3 separate regions of the Homo sapiens genome follow, and regions 1 and 3 are each linked to region 2. The links are contacts of gene promoters, found by promoter capture Hi-C in blood cells and fetal thymus (Javierre and others, 2016). All regions are on one chromosome and are shown on one strand. Each heading gives the region's core, a stretch centred on a gene start or on the middle of the fragment in contact. The rest is flanking DNA. Distances are from core to core; before and after follow the strand shown.

Region 1 (3,530 bases), core at 64-2,563, 430 kb before region 2:
AGAACTGGGCCTCCGACAGTTGTTTCAGTTCCTATTGGAAATGGACCAAATATATTATGTGCCTAATTAAATCAGAGGTTACTTGGTCTAACAAGAAATCATTGGTGAGAAAAGACCAACCATACATCATTTCAAAGGGACTGAAACTTAGCTTTGAAGGAGTATTTCTAATACTTAACAGGGGCTATGGGGAAAAGGGTAGGCCAGGGGAGATGAGTCTCCTGAGACAGTTTCCCGAGGTACCTTTTGATAATATCATTTGTCTTTTCTATCTTTCCTGAGGATTGTGGTCTCCAGGCACAATGAAGATGGTACTGTATACCTAGTGCTTTTGAGACCCCCCTGAGTGACAGCTGCCTTGAATGAGGGGCTATCATTGCTCTGGAGGTATTTAGGAAGTCCAAAACAAGGAATTATCTCACTGATCAGTAATTTTATTACCTCAGAGGCTTTCTTTGTCTGACATGGAAATGTTTCTACCCAGTTAGTGAAAGTATCTATTCATAATAGGAGGTACTGCATGTACCTTTCCTTTGGCATATGGGTGAATCCATTTGCCAGTTTTCCCCTGGGTAGCCTCCTATCCTTTGGGTTCCTGGGAGAATAAGCTGTCAATTAAGGGGATTGTTTTCAAGGCAGGTCTTGCAAGTATTAATGACCTGTTGAACCATTTGTATCAGGTTTTTACCTGAGAATAATCTCTGGGCCAGTTGATAGGTTTTATCCTTACCTAGGTGGAAGGCCTGGTGAAGGCTTTTAAGAACTTTCCATGGGTTGGCAGCTGGTGGATGAAGCTTACTATCCTCTGATTATAGCCATCCTGAGGACTGCAGGATGTATCCCTAAGAGGTGGCCCATTCTATTTCCACAAGAGAATATTGAGGTTTTATTTCTATCACGGGGCACTCCCAGATCAGTGGGACTTCAAATGGGTCAGAGACCTGGGGCCCACTTGCTGCTGATTAAACTGCTTGGTCTGCCAGCCTATTTCCCTCAACTATTTCATCTGTCCCTCTTTGGCAGTCTTTACAATGTATTATTGCCACTTCCTGTGGGAGGAAAACTGAGGATAATAGTCTATTAATTTTCTGATTATATTTAATAGGAGACCCATTAGCTATGAGGAAGTTCCTCTTTCCAGATAGTGGTATGGGCATCGAGGACCAGGAAAGCATACTTAGAATCAATATAAAAGTTAACGTTTTTCCTTTGCTTAATTCGAGCACCCTCGTGAGGGTGATTAGTTCAACTAGCTGACCATTTGTGCCCAAGGAGAGAGGTGCACTCTCAACAACATCATTCAGAGTAACTATTGCATACCCTGCTCTGTGAGTTCCTTTTTCTACAAAAAAAACTTCCGTCCATAAACGGAATCCAGTCTGGGTTATCTAAGGGGGTTTCCTTGAGGTTCTCTCTGGCTGCATAGGTTTGTACTACTATTTGCTAGCAGTCATGTTCAAGTTCCCTGGATTCCTCTTGGAGGAAGGTGGCTGGATTTAGGGACAGGTTCTTAATTAGAAGGACTGCAGAACTTTCTAATAACAGAGCTTGGTATCTGAGGAGGTGGTTTTCTGTTAGCCAGAGACTCCCCTTAGAAGACAGTAGTCCTGCCACATTATGTGGGATATAAACGGTTAAGTTATTCCCCGTGGTTAACTTATTAGCCTCTGGTACCAGCAAGGCTATTGCTGTGAATGCCCAGAGTCAGGCTAGCCATCATGTGGCTACCAAATCAAGCTCCTTACTCAGGTAGCCTACATGCTGCTGGGCTGAACTCCAGGTCTGTGTTAGAACTCCCAGTGCCATTACTTTTCTCTGATACATAAAGCTTAAATGTTTTCCCTATGGGGAGACTTAGGGCTGGTGCCTTAAGCAAGGCTTGTTTTAGTTGGTCAAAGGCCTTTTTAGCCTCTGGTTCCCAAATTAGACAGTGAGATTTAGCTGTCTGAGTCTCCTTTATTAGGTGAAATAGGGACAAGCTATTTCACTGTACCCAGGTATCCATGGTCTGCAGAATCCTGTAATGTGTAAGAATTCCCTCAGTTTCTTGAGGGTTTTAGGGAAGGGAAAGGAGGAGATGGGCTTAATCCTCTCTTTGTCCAATGCCCTGGCCCTCTCTGACAAAGCCAGACCTAGGTATTTCACTGAAGTCTGAGATACCTGAGCATTAGATTTTGAAACCTTATATCCTCTGTTAGTCAGAAAGTTAAGAAGGGCCTTACTGCCCTCCTAAGAGATTTCCTCAGTTGGAGCGCAGAGAAGGTCATCCATGTATTGTAAAACTTTAACCTGAGGATAAAGGAATTCAGAGAGGTCTCTCAATAATGCCTGGCCAAACAAGGTGGGGCTGTCTCGGAACCCCTGAGGTAACAGTGTTCTGGGTGGTTTGGTTAGAGGGATCCTTAAATGCAAACAAACACTAGGAGTCAGTGTGTAAAGGTGTGCAGAAGAAGGTATCCTTTAGTTCCAGAACTGTGAACCATTTAGTCCCCTCAGGTATTTGAATTAGTGGGGTATATGGATTGGTAACCACTGGATGTATTGGAACCACAGCCTCATTAACAAGGTGGAGGTCCTGAACTAGTCTTCATCCTTGTTGGGTTTTTGTACCCCCAATATTGGGGTATTACAAGAGCTGTTGCAGGGTTTGAGGAGGCTCTACATCTTCAAGTCATCAATGATGGCTTCTAGTCCTTTCCTAACTTCTGGTTTCAGGGAATATTGTTTCTGGTTAGGAAAGGAGGTGGGATCTTTAAGATGAACCCAGACCAATATGTCAGGTGTGGCTCAGCCAATCTTCCTTCAAGTTGCCCAAACTTCTGAGTTAATATCAGTCTCCACTAGGGGGAGACAACGAGTTTGCCCAGGGGCCATCAGGATGGTGGTCCCTATACAGGCCAGAATATCCCTGCCCAACAGAGGAGTTTGGCTTTCAGGCATAATTAGAAAAGCATGGGTGAACAAAATGTCTCCCCAGCTACAACTAAGGGGTTGGGGATAATATCGGGTTAAAGTCCTCCCTGAGACACACTTCATGATTGTGCTAAGAGAGCAGAAGGGCCCAGGACTGGAGGGGAGAACTCAAGAGACCAGCCCTGGTGTCCAAAAATTTCCTCCCTTCAATTTCCAGAATTACCTGGGGCTCCTGGATGGTAATGATGGTCTGGACCACTGGAGCCAGGGAAAGGAGACCCAGGACCCATCAGTCCTGCTGCTGGATCATGTAGATTGGTTCTGAACCTGGTGACCAGCATCCCCAGGGACAGTCCACCCTCCAATGGTCCCCATTGCAGATTGGACAGGGTTGAGGTGGCTTCCTCGTGCTGCCTGGGTAATCCTTCTTGAAATGCCCTGGCTTGCCACATCTGTAGCAGTTAACAGGTGCACCCTGGGAATTCTGGGGTTTGTGGGCTTGCATGGTGGCTATTGAAGCCTCTGTATCTTTCCAGTAATTCCTCTGTCTCTCCTGGGCCTCCATATCTCTATCATAAGAGACCAGGGTGGCTACTAAAGTACTATCTACCAAGGGT
Region 2 (3,644 bases), core at 625-3,124:
TGGGGCTTGAAGGGTGTGGAAGAAGGTGGAGGAGCAGGATATTGAAGAGGCTGGTAGTTTGGCAGATCATAAAACGCTTTGAATGCTATACCAATACCAAAAGAAAATGCTTCTGACTGGGCATGGTGGCTCATGCCTGTAATCCCAGCATTTTGGGAGGCTGAGGCGGGTGGATCACTTGAGGTCAGGAGTTTGAGACCAGCTGGGCAACATGGCAAAACCCCGTCTTCACTAAAAACACAAAAATTAGCCGGGGATGGTGGTGGGCACCTGTAATCCCAGCTAATAGGGAGGCTGAGGCAGGTGAATCGCTTGAACCTGGGAGTCGGAGGCTGCAGAGATTGTGCCACTGCACTCCAGCCTGGGTGACAGAGTGAGACTCTGTCTCAAAACAAAAACAATAACAAACAAAAAACGCTTCTATGGTGCTTAATATGGCAGGCCTGCTTCTAAGTGCTATCAAACGCTTACTTAGTCTTTGTAGCAACCCTAGGAAGTAGCTATGACTATTATCCCCATTTTATAGCAGAAGAAATTGAGACCCAGAGATGTTGAGTAAGTTGCCTAAGGCTACAGAGCTAGCGTAGAGCTTGGATTTGAATGTAAGCGTTTGACTTTGAAGAAAATGCTTTTTCCGTACTAGGCTGCTTCTTAGTAATGACCCTCAAACGGAGGAATGCAATTGTCAAGTTTTAGAGTGAGCAATCAGGTTGCAATGCAGAGTTGGCTTTGTGGGAGTCAAGACTAGAGCCCTGATTGCTAGTTAAGGGACTATGGAAATTCTCCTTGCAAGAGGTAGAGTGAACATGAACTTGGCAGTGGCAGTGGAATGGAGGGCAATGTGTGGATTTGAGAAACATTTGGGAGTTAGAATAGGCAGGGCCTTTGATTGATTTGATGTAGAGGTAACTGTATGTTTGACTGGAATAAATCCCAGACCCAGTTCTGGGTTTAAATTTGATGTGTAATCTTGGTCATTTAATTTATTGTCTTTGCACTTTAGCTCTTCTGTTTCAAATGAGTTACATTATAACCCTGACATTGAGAATCTGCTGGAGAATTTGAAATGGCATATATAAGGTGGCTGGTGCAACATAAATAGGAGCAGCTGAATACATGATAAAATTATATTAGGCTGTTGGATTTTAAAGGATTGATCTAACTTTAAAAGTCTTATTTGAAAATGTACCTGCTCTTGGAAAGGGTCACATCTTGATATTAGCCAGTGCCTCAACGTTTTCAGTTAGTACTCAAGAGAAATTATGGCACCAGAGGAGATGAGGGTCGGAGTGGGGAGAATGGAGAGGGAATGGCACCCGTAGGCAAGAGAAAGATGCCCTGATAAGGAGGCCAAGAACAGCTCCTGATTTCATAGTTTTACCTTGAAAAAGCTGGTGTTTGAAAAGCTTTTGGGAGGAAAAACAGAAGTGGTAGTCTTGGAAACCAAGACCAAAACCAGAACAGGTGAAGTATTGGCCATTGGCTGAATTATCCAGATAGCTCCTGCTTTCCCCTTATGTTCAATAGTCTTTTGTAGTCCCATGGGCATTGACAGTAAAATAAGAAGAAGCATCTTTTAGAGAACAGTAAGAAAAGATAAAATATCCCTCTAAATGCTTACCTCATTGGTTTTGGCCAAGTCCTTTATGATGTCTGCTTGTTTTTCATCCTGGGGCTTCACGCGGAACACCTTCTCCCTTTGTGGAGGCAAATGAAAAAAAAAAAGTGAACTGTAAGGAAACAACCTTTAATTCTCTTCTACACAGAGACTGGAACACAGGAAGTAAGATTTACCTGTCAAAGCGGACAGGAGCAATTGCAAGAGTGGTAGCAATCAAACCCACAGGCAGGATGAGCCTCATGGTTCTTCTTTGCCTGCCTTGAGACCCTCTGGCAGTTTTATGCCTCAGCCCTTATCTTGATGAGCAGCTGATTTCCTCTTAGGGTTCTGTTGCACAAACTGTTCCCCTTCTTCCCCCACACCAGGTTTTTTTTTTCCAGCTGGAGAGGGAAAAACACTAACCCACCAAGCACATGCTACTTATCTACCTTTTGCAATAGGAAATACCCATTTTACAGATACAGGATGGGAAGCAAATGCCTTTAGCAAATAACTTGGCCAAGGTAACAGAGAAAGTATGTTCACAGAGCTGGGATTTACTAGTTCTATCTGTTCTAAAATACTACTCTACCATTCTGCTTGAATTGAATGATGGAAGAAATTAGTTTTAAAATTTGCACTTGGAGACTGAGATGAATTTGGGTATCTGGCCATAAAATCTTGGTGAGTGGTTCGTAATAATGTAAAATATATTTTTGAAGCTAGAATGTAAGTTGTGAAATTAAAAACATTTAAATTGACTGGGCACGGTGGCTCACGCCTGTAATCCCAGCAGTTTGGGAGGCCGCGGCGGGTGGATCATCTGAGGTCAGGAGTTCAAGACCAGCCTGGCCAACGTGGTGAAACCCTGTCTCTACTAAAAAATACAAAAATTAGCCGGGCGTGGCGGCAGGTGCCTTAATCCCAGCTACTTGGGAGGCAAAAAAAACCCCAAAAATTTAAATTACAAAATATAAATGTACTAAAAATGCTGTAAGTACTATGGCGAACATTGAAATGTTCACCATTTAGATTTTACAATGATAACATTTTTGTTATATTTTTCCTGTACTTCTCTGGGTAAAGAAATAAACACTAAAGACCTAAAGCACTGCCCTAACTCTTTGCCCTTCTCTTCTCTCTGTCCTCAGAGGTGACCCCTATTTCTAAGGCAACTTGAGAACTACCTGACAGCAAGAAAATATCAATGCTGTAATGTTTATTAATTGGACACTGTCTTCAGAGCCTGGATGCTGTAATTGCCAAATAATGCCTTTTGAGAGTTGAATTAATGAAAGCCACCTATAGACCATTCACAACCATCTCTGGAGGGATGTTTAGTCTTGAACACAACTTGGTTAATTATGGGAGAATAACACCTTTACCTAGAATCATAGGTAACCTAAAAGAGTAAGTGAATTTATCTAATCAGTTAACTTATTAGAATTTCCTTTTTGAAAACCACCTCTTCACATTGACAAACGTATAGCTGACTGTAGATAAAACTTCTCAGAGTCACGCTTATGTACTATCAAAATAGTGTGGTTGGAGACACGCCCCTGTTATATATACAGCAGCAGTAATTCCATTCTTCTCTATCTGATGGGTGTGTGGTAGAACTCGGGACTTTTTTTTATTTCCCCAAATGGATTTTCCGGCTCCAGCCTTGCAGGTAAGGAAGAGGAGGGTTTTACAAATGCCTTCATGTTCTTGACACTGGGCAAGCTCACCAGCACTGAGAACTCCCAAAGCAAATGCTTGCTCCATTGCTTTTGACTAAAGATACTTTTGACCAGGGAACAGTGAAAAAGAAAGACCTTGACTTTGGGTTTCGACAGACATCACTTCAATGTGGCTCCCACACGCTAGCTACATCCCCTTGAGCAGGCTGCCTAGTTATTCTGGGCCTTGGTTTCCTCATTTGTAAAATGGGAATGCTAATGTGACTCTAACAAGTGGCTGTGAGGCTTAGTGAGACAGGATATGTTAGGGACTTCGTGGTAGGTGCTAAAAAACACGTCCATGCTCTCTAGACAGTTGATAA
Region 3 (3,251 bases), core at 226-2,725, 480 kb after region 2:
CATGTCTAACTTTTCTAGTAATCAAATAGTGCAAATTATTGAAACAATTAAAATAAGAAAAAAATTGATTAGCCAAAAGTATTAAAGTTTTGAAATAGCCAGTGAAGTTAGTGAAGATAAGAGGAAATGGATACTTTGATACAGTGTTGGTGGAAATATAAGTTGATTGAATCATCTCAACTATATTTGTACCAGTACATTAGCTTCATAAAAGCTGCCATTCTTTTCTGTTTTGATTATTGCCATATTCAAAAAGACTACAATAGTGCCTGAGAAACATTGCAAATTCTTAATAAATGCTTGTTCAGTAAATTAATATCAACATTTAAAATCTAATGGTCTTTTGCTATATAATTCCACTCCTAAAAGTTTACCCAAAGGATGTAAACATGTGTCTTAGTCTGTTTTGTGCTATTATAACAGACTGTCACAAACTGGGTAGTTTATAAAAAACAAAAATTCATTTCTCACAGTTCTGGATGCTGGGAAGTGTAAGATCAAGATGGTGGCAGGTTCGACTGGTGAGAGTTGCATTCTCCAGATGGAAGAAACATTGTGTCCTCATCTGGTGGAAGGTGGAAGGGTAAGCTACCAAGCACTCTGCAAAGATCCTTTAAAAGGGTCTTAATCCCATTCATGAGGGACGAACCCTCATGACCTAATCACCTCTTACAGACTCTACCTCTTAATACTTTCACATTGGCAACACCTGATTTTGGAGGTAATATATTCAAACCCATAGCAACAAGTATGCAAAATAGAAATCAAGTATATACAGATTTTACTTTGTCTATTAAAGTGTGAGAAAAACAATATGAATGCTCAACAATCAGTTACTGGTTAACTATATTATGGTCTCTACAAGTAGTGAAATATTATATAGTTTTAAAAATATATATCTATATTTTTTAACATGAAATAATGTCCATGACACATTACTGAGTGCAAGAAAAGCAGTTTGCAAATGTTCCATTAGATCTGATTTTTATTTTTTCAAAAGGAAGTTACTATAGGTGCATACTTATCTAGACAGAGCCTGCTAATTATATACATCAAAATAGTAAGAGTGGAATATCCTCTACCCCTTTTTTTCTTTTCCCCTCCTGAATAATTCAGTCCAAAACCCATTAGGCAGGGTGTCTATAAAGGTAAGGAAATGACACCAGACAGTAGTTGCAATCCCTCCACAATTCTCACTTCCAAAGCAAACAAAACAAAACAAAACAAACAACAACATTCTTGACTAGTACTTCTTATTTTTCCAGGCTTATTTATCCTGGTTCCCTGATCCTCAAAATTTTTGTGATGTATAATCCAGTGATTGTTCTGCCTGACATCTCTGCCTCTCCCAAATATTCTTCTTTCCTTTCTTATTAGCCTAAATTCCATCACTTTCTAACATACACCCTCAGCTTCCTCTTCTCTCCCTTTCTAAGCAATCATTCTGTTTTCTTGGGAAATACTAGCAAAAAGCAATCCCTACGTTGGTAAGTTATGTCAGGTAATGGTAACAGCTATGGAGAAAAATAAAGTGTGGATGTAATTTTATATAGCATTTATTGTGGCACTATTGATAATAGCAAAGACTTGGAACCAACCCAAATGCTCATTAATAATAGATTGGATAAAGAAAACATGGCACATATACACCATGGAATACTATGCAGCCATAAAAAAGAATGAGTTCATGTCTTTTGCAGGGACGTGGATGAAGCTGGAAACCATCATTCTCAGCAAACTATTACAAGAACAGAAAACCAAGCACCACATCTTCTCACTTATAAGTGGGAGTTGAACAATGAGAACACATGGACATAGGGAGGGGAACATCACACACCGGGGCCTGTCAGATGGTGGGGAGCTGGGGGAGGGATAACATTAGGAGAAATACCTAGTGTAGATGACAGGTTGATGGGTGCAGCAAACCACCATGGCACGTGTATACCTATGGAACAAAACTGCACGTTTTGCACATGTACCGCAGAACTTAATAACAATAAGAAGAAGAACAGTACTGTGGCTGGAGCAGGATACTGTTGTGGGGGATGGGGAGTGAAGCAATAGTAAAAGATGATCTCAGAGAATTACAGGTGGCCAGACATATAGGGCCTTAAGTTACTACCTAAAATCCTAACCTCTCTTAACATTTTGACATATTTTCTTCTAGTTTTGTTACTTATCTAAACGTTTCATATAGTTGATATTATATCACCTATCTTATTTTCTTGCACTAAGCCTTTTTTATAACATTACCCCTTCAGCAATTTTTCCAATGGCACAACACTTCCAACATATTTTAAATTACTGCATAATATATTATCATGTATACATACGCAATGTCATTACTACGTACTGGTCATTGAAATTATTCACAGGCAGAAAGAAGATAAGGAGTAACAGTCTAATGATTCTGCAACTCAGCATCAGGCATCCTTATTTCGACTCTCTCCTGACTCTGTAGAACAGTTCTTGCCTCATTTGCAAGACTGCGTACACCTTCCCTATTCCTTTTTTCTTTCTTTTTAAAGAAAAATCTAGCCCATTACAGCACCCATATCTTGATAAGGTTCTTGTTTTCTTGTTTCTGGGGCTGAAAACTCTGCAGTTCTTGGATGCAGTTTCTATAAAAATAAATCACTCATTTCTCTAGACTTATTTCTTAGACAAAATAAAGATGTTACATGGACTTGTTATATATTAATACAGTATTACACAAGTCTATGATAAAAAGTATATTACCACATAGCCAACTTTCAATTTTTCTATTATGAAGTGCCAATATGATGTTTGGAGTAAAACAAGAAAGATGCATGGCTTTTGTAACTTACAAATAATTTAACTCACCTAAACAATGAGAGAAATATGCTATATTGAGGACCTTATTAGTTCATTATGATTCAAGAATTTTTAAAACAATGCCTGGGTCCTTTGCACCACACAGCTGGAATATGGCTGGAGGTGCTCTGAATCATGGAGAATCCAGAAAGAGAAGTATAGAATAAAGATTGATAAGGAATACACCAAGCAGATGTTTTATTTCTTCCTTTTGGGGATAATTCTAGAGATTATCACAATATAGTCTGTGGGAGGTGGAGAGAGAACAGGTAACTGGGATAACCCTGAAGTAGCTGGGAAACTCCATGTCTTTAGCACAAAGTTCTGTCAATAAAACCAAACACTGGCTTTCAGTTATAAAGACCCTGCTAGGTCAGCATCTTCCGCACTGCCTTATTGAATTGGGATTTAGTAAC

Evidence for each region. The method cuts DNA at HindIII sites, captures the fragments that hold promoters and counts their contacts. A CHiCAGO score of 5 or more calls a contact.
Region 1: a fragment that was not itself captured here is called in contact with the fragment with the promoter of CPA3 in region 2 in 1 of 17 cell types (total CD4 T cells); the score reaches 5.5 in total CD4 T cells.
Region 3: a contact is called between a fragment that was not itself captured here and the fragment with the promoter of CPA3 in region 2, in 1 of 17 cell types (endothelial precursors). The highest score is 5.4, in endothelial precursors.

The regions. Positions count from the first base shown.
Region 1 is chr3:149,290,693-149,294,222 of GRCh38, reverse strand. All of the region lies in intron 1 of TM4SF18-AS1 (TM4SF18 antisense RNA 1), which reads right to left. Among named protein-coding and RNA genes, the nearest start is that of TM4SF18-AS1, 7.7 kb to the right of the region's middle. The HindIII fragment of the contact is 1,034 bases long and covers 797-1,830 here.
Region 2 is chr3:148,863,526-148,867,169 of GRCh38, reverse strand. CPA3 (carboxypeptidase A3) reads right to left here and starts at 1,874. Exons shown (of 11, transcript NM_001870.4): 1 at 1,795-1,874; 2 at 1,622-1,697. The coding sequence starts at 1,862. The HindIII fragment of the contact is 2,592 bases long and covers 1,409-3,644 here.
Region 3 is chr3:148,382,092-148,385,342 of GRCh38, reverse strand. All of the region lies in intron 4 of LINC02046 (long intergenic non-protein coding RNA 2046), which reads right to left. It overlaps LOC105374147 (a long non-coding RNA gene), which reads left to right. Exons shown (of 4, transcript XR_924566.2): 4 at 474-1,501. Among named protein-coding and RNA genes, the nearest start is that of LINC02046, 100 kb to the right of the region's middle. The HindIII fragment of the contact is 3,753 bases long and covers 1-3,251 here.